Linked DNA regions of Homo sapiens: region 2 is linked to region 1. Evidence: promoter capture Hi-C in 16 types of primary human blood cells and fetal thymus (Javierre and others, 2016). All regions are on one chromosome and are shown on one strand. Each heading gives the region's core, a stretch centred on a gene start or on the middle of the fragment in contact. The rest is flanking DNA. Distances are from core to core; before and after follow the strand shown.

Region 1 (6,527 bases), core at 2,041-4,540:
ACTGATTTGATAAGGTCATACTGATATTTGAAATACTAGTGATAGCTTGCCAGAACATTCCCCCATTGCTACTTTTGGGGATGCCCAGGTAAACTGCTGGTCCAGGGAAGAGAGATGGAAGTAACAAAGGGGAACTGCGTGGGAAGAAAAGGTGCGAAAGTTTTCTGTTTTTTTCCAGTGGCCCAGGCACCCCTGAAACCAAAAACACCTCGGGGTACCAAGACACCGATCAACAGAAACCAGCTGTCCCAGAACCGGGGACTGGGGGGCATTATGGTGAAACGGGCCTATGAGACTGTGAGTTGACAGAAAGGGGTGGGCCAGATTGAGTTGGGTGGGCTTTTGTCTCTCATAGGAGTCTGAGAGGGTCCCTTCCCTCATTGTGCCATCCTACCCCTTTTCCAGATGGCAGGGGCAGGGGTTCCTTTCTCTGCCAATGGAAGGCCTCTGGCTTCAGGGATTCGTTCAAGCTCACAGCCAGCAGCCAAGCGTCAGAAACTAAACCCAGCTGATGCCCCCAATCCTGTGGTGTTTGTGGCCACAAAGGATACCAGGTAAGGCGTCTACCATGGGAGGGGCTGAGAGGGACAGTCCAGGCTGGTGAGTGTGGGGAGTAGGAGTATCAGAGCAAGAGCTCCAGGAAAGTTGTGGATGCAGGGTGGGGATGCCAGAAAAGAATGGGCCAGAAGGCATAATTGCAGTGTGGGGCTTCACCTGGAGGTCTTAATGTTCTCTAAGCCTTTTCTGTTTCCCACTTGCTCTTTCTGGCCAGGGCCCTACGGAAGGCTCTGACCCATCTGGAAATGCGGCGAGCTGCTCGCCGACCCAACTTGCCCCTGAAGGTGAAGCCAACGCTGATTGCAGTGCGGCCCCCTGTCCCTCTACCTGCACCCTCACATCCTGCCAGCACCAATGAGCCTATTGTCCTGGAGGACTGAGCACCTGTGGGGAAGGGAGGTGGGCTGAGAGGTAGAGGGTGGATGCCCAGGGCACCCAAACCTCCCTTCCCTTTCGTGTCGAAGGGAGTGAGGAGTGAATTAAGGAAGAGAGCAAGTGAGTGTGTGTCCCTGGAGGGGTTGGGCGCCCTCTGGTGTTACCACCTCGAGACTTGTCTCATGCCTCCATGCTTGCCGATGGAGGACAGACTGCAGGAACTTGGCCCATGTGGGAACCTAGCCTGTTTTGGGGGGTAGGACCCACAGATGTCTTGGACAGTTTTGGGGGGAGGGTTTTTTAATTTTTTAAAAATTTTGCCTCCCTTTGTGAAAGGGGATGGGGAGGGGAAGAGTAAACAGATAACAGGTGGTGGTACCTGGTTGGGGGAGGGGGGCGTGCACTGCCATGTCTTTTTTTTTTTTTTTTTTTTTTTTTTTCCTAATTGGGGGTTTCTCTTTCTGTCCGGTGTCCGGACTTTCCTAATTGGAGTTTGAGGCCCCTAAGCTGGCATCAACCCCAGGCCACGCTCGCTCTTTCCTTCCCTCCCCTCCCCCTCTGCCTTTTGTACGCCAGTTCTCAGAAATAAAGATCTTTTGTCCGTTTTTTTAACCTCGGATTCTGTAATTGGTTCTTATAGTAACAAATAAAAAGCTGTTTTCTTCAGCTTCTCCTGGCTCAGCTGTTCTTTGCCATGGGTGTGTGTTGTGTGTGTGTTGGGGGTGTCTTTGAGAGGGAAAATAAAGGACAAAGGACAACAAAGGAGGTACAGATGGTTCTTGCCCTGGGAACAGCTTTATGAGATAGGCAGCCTGGACCCAGGCGGCTTGCTCCAGCTAGGCTTCTTGTGGGACCCAAACTGCTCCCCAGCTCCCAGTGGTGCTGGAGCTCAAGAACCATCTTGGCCCAGATTCATTCAAAGGAGTTGAGATGAGCTTTCTGGATGACTGGTGGCCTCCATAGGAAAGGGGAATGGGGGTGTTTCTTCCTCTGTTTCCCACCTCTTACTCCCCTCTCCCTTTTGTTTAAGGAATTCTGGAAGTTGCTAGCAGCCAGGGTAACATGTATACCCCCTTGGGGGTGGTGGTGGGGTTATAGGAGGATCCCCTCACCTAGCTGTGTGGTGTATTTGGCAGACGAGAATTCTACCACTGAACCACCCTAGCACCTCTGGGTGTATGTGTACAGCCTGCTGCTTCAGGATCCTCAAGGCCAGTCTCGATGATATCCCGATCCACTGTAGCACTGTTTCCTGCCTTAAAGGTTTGGGACACTGAGATTAGATGCCTGAGCTGGGCCCATTAGAAGGAACACCTTAGGATAGAGAACAAGAAGTTCAGCCTGCTGTGTGCTCCTTGGGCACTTCCTTTAGAGATGGGAAACGGCCTCAACAGTTGTGACTTGTTCAAGGTCAAAGACCTTGGTGTCTGCCTTAGGTCCACTGCTCTTTGCGCCATTCAAAGCTGTGGGCTGATAACCACAGCACAAGCTGCTGAGCCCATCTGATAGTTCTCTCCACCTCGTTATGGTCCCTGTCCCTAGGGCATCCCCAGCTCCCCGTAGTCCCTCCCTGTCCTGAGCCTACACCTCGGCGGCGTTGGGATGAACTGACAATTATACCAGGAGGGGGTTGACAGCATTCGCCCCCTCCAGTGTCTAAACTCAGTTACTGGCACTCGGTTTTGTCTTGTCGCACTGCTCTGAGGTGCGCCAGTAGCTCTGGCGCCTCCGGCGTACACCACGCAGCCCACTACTGCGGAAGGAATGGGCCTGGCTCCAGGACCTCGTGGAGTCCGGAAGGTGCCCGGTGGTGGCAGAGCTCCCCAACCAGGGCTAGAAGCCGTCGCAGAACACCCGTTTTGCGGGAGGACAGGGGGCGGAGGGAGGGAGTAACAGCCCTGAAAAGGTTGGAAGTCCAGGGACAGCCCTGGGCTCCGTGGGGCAAAGAATTGGAAGCCGCCGATCCTCCGCCTTTATTCGTCGGGTAAATAAGGGTCGAGGGTACAGACGCACGGGTGTCTACTGCGGGGTGAAGGAGCTGCCGCAAGATGCCACCCGGCGCCGGCCTTTGTGGCTGCTGTCATGAATATTCACGATGCTTTGGGCCAATCAACGTCTGAACAGCTTAAAGCACACCAATCGGCTTACCGCATGCAGATAAGCATCGTAACGCGCCGCTTTTCCTGAAACGGGCGGGGACTGGACAGCGGCTAGAAACGGAACCCAGAGTCGAAGGAGCTTGGTTTCCGGAGGAGTGTGTCCGCGCAATTGAACGACTTTATGTCACTTCCTATCGGATCGGCGGAAGTTGCTTCCGAGCGCGTTGAGCTTTGGCGAAGTGGGTTCCGGTGGTGGCAGAGGTGCTTGTGTTTTTGTCGGTACAGGAGAGTCGCTATGGCGGCGGTGGATTCGGATGTCGAATCGCTGCCGCGTGGGGGGTTCCGCTGCTGCCTCTGCCACGTTACTACAGCCAACCGTAAGCGGTGGCTAGTGAGGGACCCGGGGGTGGTTGCGGGCTTTCGTCTTTTGATCCTGGCGAAAGTTAGGGTTATAGGTAGTCAGTCGTTCTTGTCAAGTTGATTGGTAGGGTCTCTCACCTCCGTTTTTCTCTGCAAGTCCGAGGGGATTTGGAGAGTCGGGAAAGTTCCACCACATTACACTCCTCAGTATATGAAATCTCCACAACGCAAGTTTAATTGTTTTATTACTTCTTTAACCATCATCTATTGGACATATGCTCTGTGCCTGGTATTCTGCTGATCTTTAGGGTGGGGGAGGGGGGTTCAGAGATGAAGGAGCTCACCGTCTAGAGAATGAGAAAGTTTCAATGCTTTATAGATATGTTCGGAGAACTGTGGGACCACAGAGAATTAGTAACTAAATCAGAGAAGCCCTACAGAGGACCTACTCAAAGGAGGGGATGGATGAAATAGGTGTGGCATGAATGACTAGACCATAAGGTACCAGTGAGGAAGAGACAGAAGATGGGTTTGGAAAAATAGACAAGGTTCTTGTATGACACACAAGGGGTTCACTGTAACTTCAAATTCCACTTTTTTTTTTTTTTTGAGACAAGGTCTTGCTCTGTCACCCAGGCTGCAGTGCGGTGGTGTGATCTTGGCTCACTGCAGCCTCAACCTCCCGGGCTCAAACCATACCCCTGGCTAGCCTCCCAAGTAGTTGAGTCTACAGGTGTGCACCACCATACTTGGCTAATTTCTTTTTTCTTTTTTTTTTTTTTTTGAGACAGAGTCTCACTCTGTCACCCAGGCTGGAGTGCAGTGGCACGATCTTGGCTCACTGCAAGCTCCACCTCCTGGGTTCACCCCATTCTCCTGCCTCAGCCTCCCGTGTAGCCGGGACTACAGGCACCCGCCACCACGCCCGGCTAATTTTTTGTATTTTTTAGTAGAGACGAGGTTTCACCATGTTAGTCAGGATGGTCTCGATCTCCTGACCTCGTGACCCGCCCGCCTCGGCCTCCCAAAGTGCCGGGATTACAGGCCTGAGCCACCGCGCCCGGCCTACTTGGCAAATTTTTTAGTTTTTTGTAGAGATGGGTTTTCACCATGTTGCCTAGGCTGGTCTCCAATTCCTGGCCTCAAGCGATCTTCCCATCTTGGCCTCCCAAAGTGCTGGGATTACAGGCGTGAGCCAATGTGCCCAGCCCTACTTTTGAAGTCTGGAATCACAGTGTTCCCTAAACAGGGTTTACTTCCATTCTTCCTTTTCACTGTGAATGGCACTATCACTGTTCATCCAGTAAGCCAAGCCAGAAACCTAGGAGTCTTCTTTGGCCCCACATTTACTTTGGTGACATCAAGCAGCTAACTCAATAAAATAATAGCAACGGTTAGTTTTTCAACATTTACCGTGTACCAGACTCTCTCTGCCAAGTGATATATCTGAATAATACCTGTGTGTGAGGTGCTAGATACTGATATTTCCATTTTATATCTGAGGAAGTTGATGCACAGTGAGGCTTCATAACTTGACCAAGGTCTCACACAGGTTGACAGAGCTGGGATTTGAACTTGGGCAATGTAATTTCAGATCCTGCCTTTGACATCACTATATTATACCATGTCCAAAGATGATCCACAAAGTATTCCATGATCCAAATTTTTTTAGTTCTTGTGTAGATGACCTGGATAAGTTACCTGTTAATTTGTTTCCAACTCTACCTAGCACAAATAGGTGGTTTAAGAAATACTTTACTATCACACTGTTCTTTAAGTAAAAATAAACAAAATACTTGTAGTGTAGCCAGTTCTCCTGGGAACCCTCGTCTCTACTAAAAATACAAAAATTAGCCGGGTGTGGTGACACACGCCTGTAGTCCCACCTACTCACGAGGCTGAGGCAGGAGAATTTCTTGAACCTGGGAGGCAGACGTTGCAGTGAGTGGAGACTGCGCCACTGAACTCCAGCGGGGGCGACAGTGAGACTCTGTTTAAAAAAAATAAATTAAAAAAAAAAGAATGTACTATTTAGACAAATGTATAAGAGAGGAAGGTGAAAGGAGCCAGGACTTTGTTTATTCAAAGGTCACAGTTTCTGTGGCTTGGAAGGATCAGTAAGATTTAGGTATGCAGAGAGCAAAGGCAGACACGTCGAAGAGTGCTTTGCATGTTTTTGTCTCACACTTGTCTTTGCAGGACCCAGCCTTGATGCCCACTTGGGAGGCAGAAAGCACCGGCACCTGGTAGAACTACGAGCTGCGAGAAAGGCCCAGGGACTTCGAAGTGTGTTTGTCAGTGGCTTTCCCAGGGATGTGGATTCTGCTCAGCTCTCTGAGTACTTCCTAGCATTTGGACCTGTGGCCAGTGTTGTCATGGACAAGGACAAGGTAAAGTGAATGGCTCTCGGGTTAAAGAATGAATCAGTGCTGGGCGCGATGGCTCACGCCTGTAATCCCATCACTTTGGGAGGCTGAGGCAGGCGGATTACCTGAGGTTAGGAGTTTGAGACCAGCCTGGCCAACATGGTGAAACCCCATCTCTACTAAAAATAAAAAATTAGCTGGGTGTGATGGCGCATGCCTGTAGTCCCAGCTACTTGGGATGCTGAGGCAGGAGAATCGCTTGAACCCGGGAGGTGGAGGTTGCAGCAAGCTGAGATCGTGCCACTGTGCTCCAGCCTGGATTACAGAGCAAGACTCCGTCTTAAGAAAAAAAAGAATGAATCAGATGTGCTGTGTACCAAAGAGACAAGAGAGAGAAACCAACAGCCTCTTTGAGCTGGTTCCTAATGTGGCTTATTCTTGATGGACATCACAGTACTTGGGCTAGACCAGCTTTGGGAGCTTCTCACACCTCCCCCACCCCTTGAATTTTTATTTTTATTATTATATTTTTGAGTGCAGTGGCACAATCTCAGCTCACTGTGACGTCTACCTCCTGGGTTCCAGCAATTCTCACACCTTAGCCACCCAAGCAACTGAGATTACAGGCGCGTGCCCCCATGCCCAGCTAATTTTTGTATTTTTAGTAGAGACAGGGTTTCACCATGTTGGCCAGGCTGGTCTCGAACTCCTGACCTCAGGTGATCCGTGCACCTCAACCTCCCCAAATGCTGGGATTACGGGCGTGAGC
Region 2 (4,047 bases), core at 108-2,607, 1.6 Mb before region 1:
TGGAGCAGGAGGGGGTCGGGTGGCGGCTGGGGCCGGCTCAGCATGTGGTAGCAGGCCTCAGTCTGGGCGCTGTCCGAGAAGTGAGCTGGCATCCCCCGGAACAGTGCAGGTGCCACGCCTGGAGTGCAGGTTGGGAGTCAACCAGGCCTGTCCCCCAGGGCTGGGACTCACGGGCCGGCCCCTGCCCCCAACCCCCCAGGCCCACCCCCACTTGCACTCACCCCCAGCCAAGACAACCTTGCTCAAGTCATAGAGCTCTTCCTCTGGCTCCTTCTCTTTCTTCTTCTTCTCCTTCTTCTCAGGAGCCCGGAGCAGGGACAGCTCCTCGGGGTGCCGGATGCCTGAGGGGAGCTAGGGTCTCAGCGGGGACTAGGTCCTGCTGCAGCCTCCCCACCTCACCCATGGGTGCTTGGGGCGGGTCACAGCCCTGCAGGCAGGGTGGCAACCCAGACAGCAAGGACAGCGTCAACAGAGCTGGGCCTGGAAACGGGGGAACCTGCCTCTTTGCATCACCCTCGTGGGCCAGGGGAATCAGCCGGGCAACTTACTGAGGAGGCGGCAGATGGCAGCCACAGCCTGGAAGAGGGGCTGGGAGAAGCTGGCACGGAGGCGCAGTGCGCGGCGGTTGGGCAACCGAAGGATGACGGGCCGGTGCTGGGGCCCAAAGAAGAGGCGTGCGTCGGCCAGGATCCCGTACTTGTCCAGTGTCCAGTGGGTCTGCAGCAGCCACTGCCTCTTCTGTTCCCACCAAATAGCATGGTCTGACCAGTCCTGCTTGCGATCTGTGGGGCACGGGGGCACATCTGGGTCCAACCTTCCTCCCTGGTGCCCCCAACACCCAGCACAACCCCAGGATTCAGAAGCCTGGGGCGACCACTCCCCTGCCCTGCCTAAGCCAAGAGTGGGGCAGCCTGGGCGGGCCTGGGGTCTACCCCATGGTAACAGCAGCAGGGCTCTCTGCAGGCAGCCCCTGATTTGGCCTTCTAGGCTTGGCTTCTATATCGCTTCCCAGGGGAGCTCTCCAACCCAGCATCTGAGTGCCCCAATCTTAGCGCCCCATCTCTTGCATTCCAGCCCACTGGGCTCCCTCCACATGACGCCCCCTCTGTCCTCCCATAATCCACGGTTTAACAGCCTCTGTCTTGCATTCTGGGGAGCTCCTGGAGGCAGAGACTACGTCTGTCTCACCGTTGTATGTCCTCAGGGCCTGGACCTGTGCCTGGCCTGGAGCAGTGAGCACTCAATATTTTTAGCTATTAGCTGTGTGACCTTGGACAAGCCACTTAACCTCACTGGGCCTCAGTTTCCCTGTAAGATACAATAACGATCTTACAAACTGGGACACGGAACAAGGCCTCCCATGTGGTAGCTGCAGGGTTTGCAGCAAACTTGTGCACGCACATGACGATCCATGAGTGAGCATTGAATTAGAGATGTGCGTCTGTCCCTTGTCAGCCAGCTGGGAACTGGAGTTACAGTAATGGAAGGCACAGGTCTCCCCGCCTCCTCCCTCCAGGAGCATGAACAGGTGGGAGAGAGCATAGGAAAAAGGCTGCCGGAAAGCTGCTCTGGGCACACAGCCCTTGAGAGTTTGCAAAGCCCTGTTTCCTGAGTTCCTCCCAGGTCCTCCCGGTGAGTTTTCTGATTCCCACTGCATCCCACCCACCTCAGCCAGCCCCCAACCCCACTGCTGCACATGCCGGGCATCACCACTGCTGCCAAACCAAGAGAAGCGCTCGTCCTCCGGCACTTCCCCTCCCAGGCTGGGCCCTTCCCTCCTGGGCACCCCAGTGGGACTCTGGCTGTGTGCCGCCGCATCCCCTTGTCTTGGCTCCTTGCTCTTCTCCTGTCCTCTCTGGCCCCTCTCCGGTCCCTCTCCTGACCGGCCCCTTACCTTGTCCTTTCCCCAGGTTCGGCCTGGGACCCTCTTCTCCTGCCTCGGCCAGGTCCCCTTACTGGGTCTCCCTATTCTGTGGTTTCAGTTGCCATTTTCTGCTGCCTCCCCATGCGTGGCCCTCGGCCCAGACCCTGCCCTGGGCCCCCAGCCAGAAACCCATGTGCTGCCAGCTGAGGGGCCTGTCCACCGGCTTCCTCCTTTCCAGAACCCTCTGTTCCTGTGGCCGAGTGGCTGACACTGGGACTGTAAGCACCATGACTCCTGGTCTCGGCTTTTGGAGCTCAGCTCAGACTCGCTGTGCACAGAGGTGCCCTCTCCTAGCCAGCTCCCCCTCCTCACCAGCTCCCTACACCACCTCTCAGGGCTGGGGGACACGGACTCGCGCCAAAGGCCCAGGCATCCTCCCTTTCTCTTCTAGCCACCACATGTAATCAATGCCAATCCCACCTCTAAAATCCACCCTCCTCTCCATCCTCCCTGCCCGGCCTTAGGAGGCCCTGGTGTCTCTAACCAGGACCACAGCCTCCTCAGGGGCCTGCCGCCACCAGCCTTTCGCCTTGCTGCTGACCTTAGCAGGACAGCCTCCTGCTGAGAACCCTTCGGTGGCCACCTTCCCCTCCAGAAGAAAGTCTAGACCCCTTCTGGAGGCCTTCGGGGCCATGCAGAGCTGGCCAGGCACCAGCCAGCCTCATTTCTGGTCACGCTCCCAGCATCCTCACCAGCCGAGAGCCCTAATTCACAGCCCTCCGAGTCCCAGCGCCACCACCTTGCTCCTCCCTGCTGAGGCCACCTCTCAGGACTTCTCCTGGGGTTATCCCCATCCTGGGCTCGGGGCAGCCCCCTCCTCTGGCTCCAGGCCCCCATGATAGCGCCCTCTGTGCGGCAGCCGGCACGCAGCCCCCATGGGTCAGTCTCACCCGCTGCTGCTCCAGGAGGCCAGGGACTGGCCCGGGGCGGCCAGGCTGAGCATCAGTAGACAGAGCTGATGTGCTTAGGAGTGACAGTATCCCCACCACAGGGAACACAGAGCTAAAGGAACTTGCCCTGGGGTGCCCAGCAGCGGGTAGAGCAGCGGGGTCTGTCTGACTCCAGGTTAAGGCCTCCTGCGTTACCCTCATGCCGTGCCCTGGGGCCACCCAGGTCTTCACCACCCTCTCTCTGTTCCTCACTTCTATTCTCACAGCTGCTCCGGGCCCTGCCCCTGGCAGCTCCCCTCACAGCCTCAGTCTTGTGGCCGGGCCGTTCTGGACCCTATCCTCTCCACAGTCGGACTGACCTCCTCCTGTGCTGCACATGGTGGCCTGGCGGGGTCTGAGGAAGCCTCCCCACCATCACCCACCCCCCACCCACTGGCAGCCCAGGCCCAGGCTCTTGGCCGGGACTGTGGTGGGCCTGTCTTCCGGCTCTGCCTATCGGGGTCTTCCTGCTGCTCTCTCAGGAAGGGGTAGCCCCCACCCCCGGCAGGGAAGGAAGATGAGGAGCCCCCGTGTCACTAGCCCCGTGGTCCTCCATGACTGATACCACAGCTGCTCTGCTGTAACTTCCTGTGGGGGCAGGGCCTTCCCACCCAGGCTGGGCCTGTCACCAACCTGCTCAAAGCTTCCGCCAAGGGGAGGGAGCGTGGGGGCAGGCCCCTGGGTCACCTAGACCCCCTCAGACCTCAGCAATGTGACTTCAGCCTCGGCCCAGACAAGACCACTCCTTCTGCCCCTATTGGTGGCTGAATGGAGGATTGTGGCTGCGTCTGATCCTTAGCAGACCAGCTGCAGCAGAAGGGAGGGAGGGAAGAGGGTGGGAGGGAGAGGAAGTTGGGGAAATGTCTTTTTTGGAACCAAATGATTAAGCTAATGCCTGAGTCACCGTGACACCATTATCGGGAGCTGAGCAGCAGGGATGGCCCGGAAGTGCCCAGAGACACCCGTGGCGGCCGCCCATGGTGCCGAGTTCAGCAAGCGGGCAGCGGACACTCACTGATCTGCTCCACAATCTTCAGGAGCACCCCGCCGATGTGCGACTCCCCAGTGACCCGCAGGGTGACCGACTCGGCCTCTGGGTCCTCCTCTCCCACAAACACCCGCAGCTCCCATGACGAGTCGATGTAGTCCCCGGAGGCTGTCTTCATCCCCGCCATGGCTGCGGCTGCTGCTACA

What was found. The method cuts DNA at HindIII sites, captures the fragments that hold promoters and counts their contacts. A CHiCAGO score of 5 or more calls a contact.
Region 2: a contact is called between a fragment that was not itself captured here and the fragment with the promoter of TUT1 in region 1, in 1 of 17 cell types (non-activated CD4 T cells). The highest score is 5.1, in non-activated CD4 T cells.

What each region holds. Positions count from the first base shown.
Region 1 is chr11:62,588,286-62,594,812 of GRCh38, reverse strand. TUT1 (terminal uridylyl transferase 1, U6 snRNA-specific) reads left to right here and starts at 3,290. Exons shown (of 9, transcript NM_022830.3): 1 at 3,290-3,409; 2 at 5,592-5,782. The coding sequence starts at 3,328. MTA2 (metastasis associated 1 family member 2) reads left to right here. Exons shown (of 18, transcript NM_004739.4): 16 at 179-297; 17 at 406-554; 18 at 773-1,599. The coding sequence ends at 938. RefSeq lists enhancers at 3,139-3,368, 2,785-3,480. The HindIII fragment of the contact is 7,198 bases long and covers 1-6,527 here.
Region 2 is chr11:64,207,346-64,211,392 of GRCh38, reverse strand. It overlaps FERMT3 (FERM domain containing kindlin 3), which reads right to left. Exons shown (of 15, transcript NM_031471.6): 2 at 3,869-4,042; 3 at 549-782; 4 at 222-341; 5 at 1-118. The coding sequence starts at 4,028. Among named protein-coding and RNA genes, the nearest start is that of FERMT3, 2.6 kb to the right of the region's middle. RefSeq lists enhancers at 2,824-2,903, 2,964-3,083, 4,024-4,047. The HindIII fragment of the contact is 4,283 bases long and covers 1-3,498 here.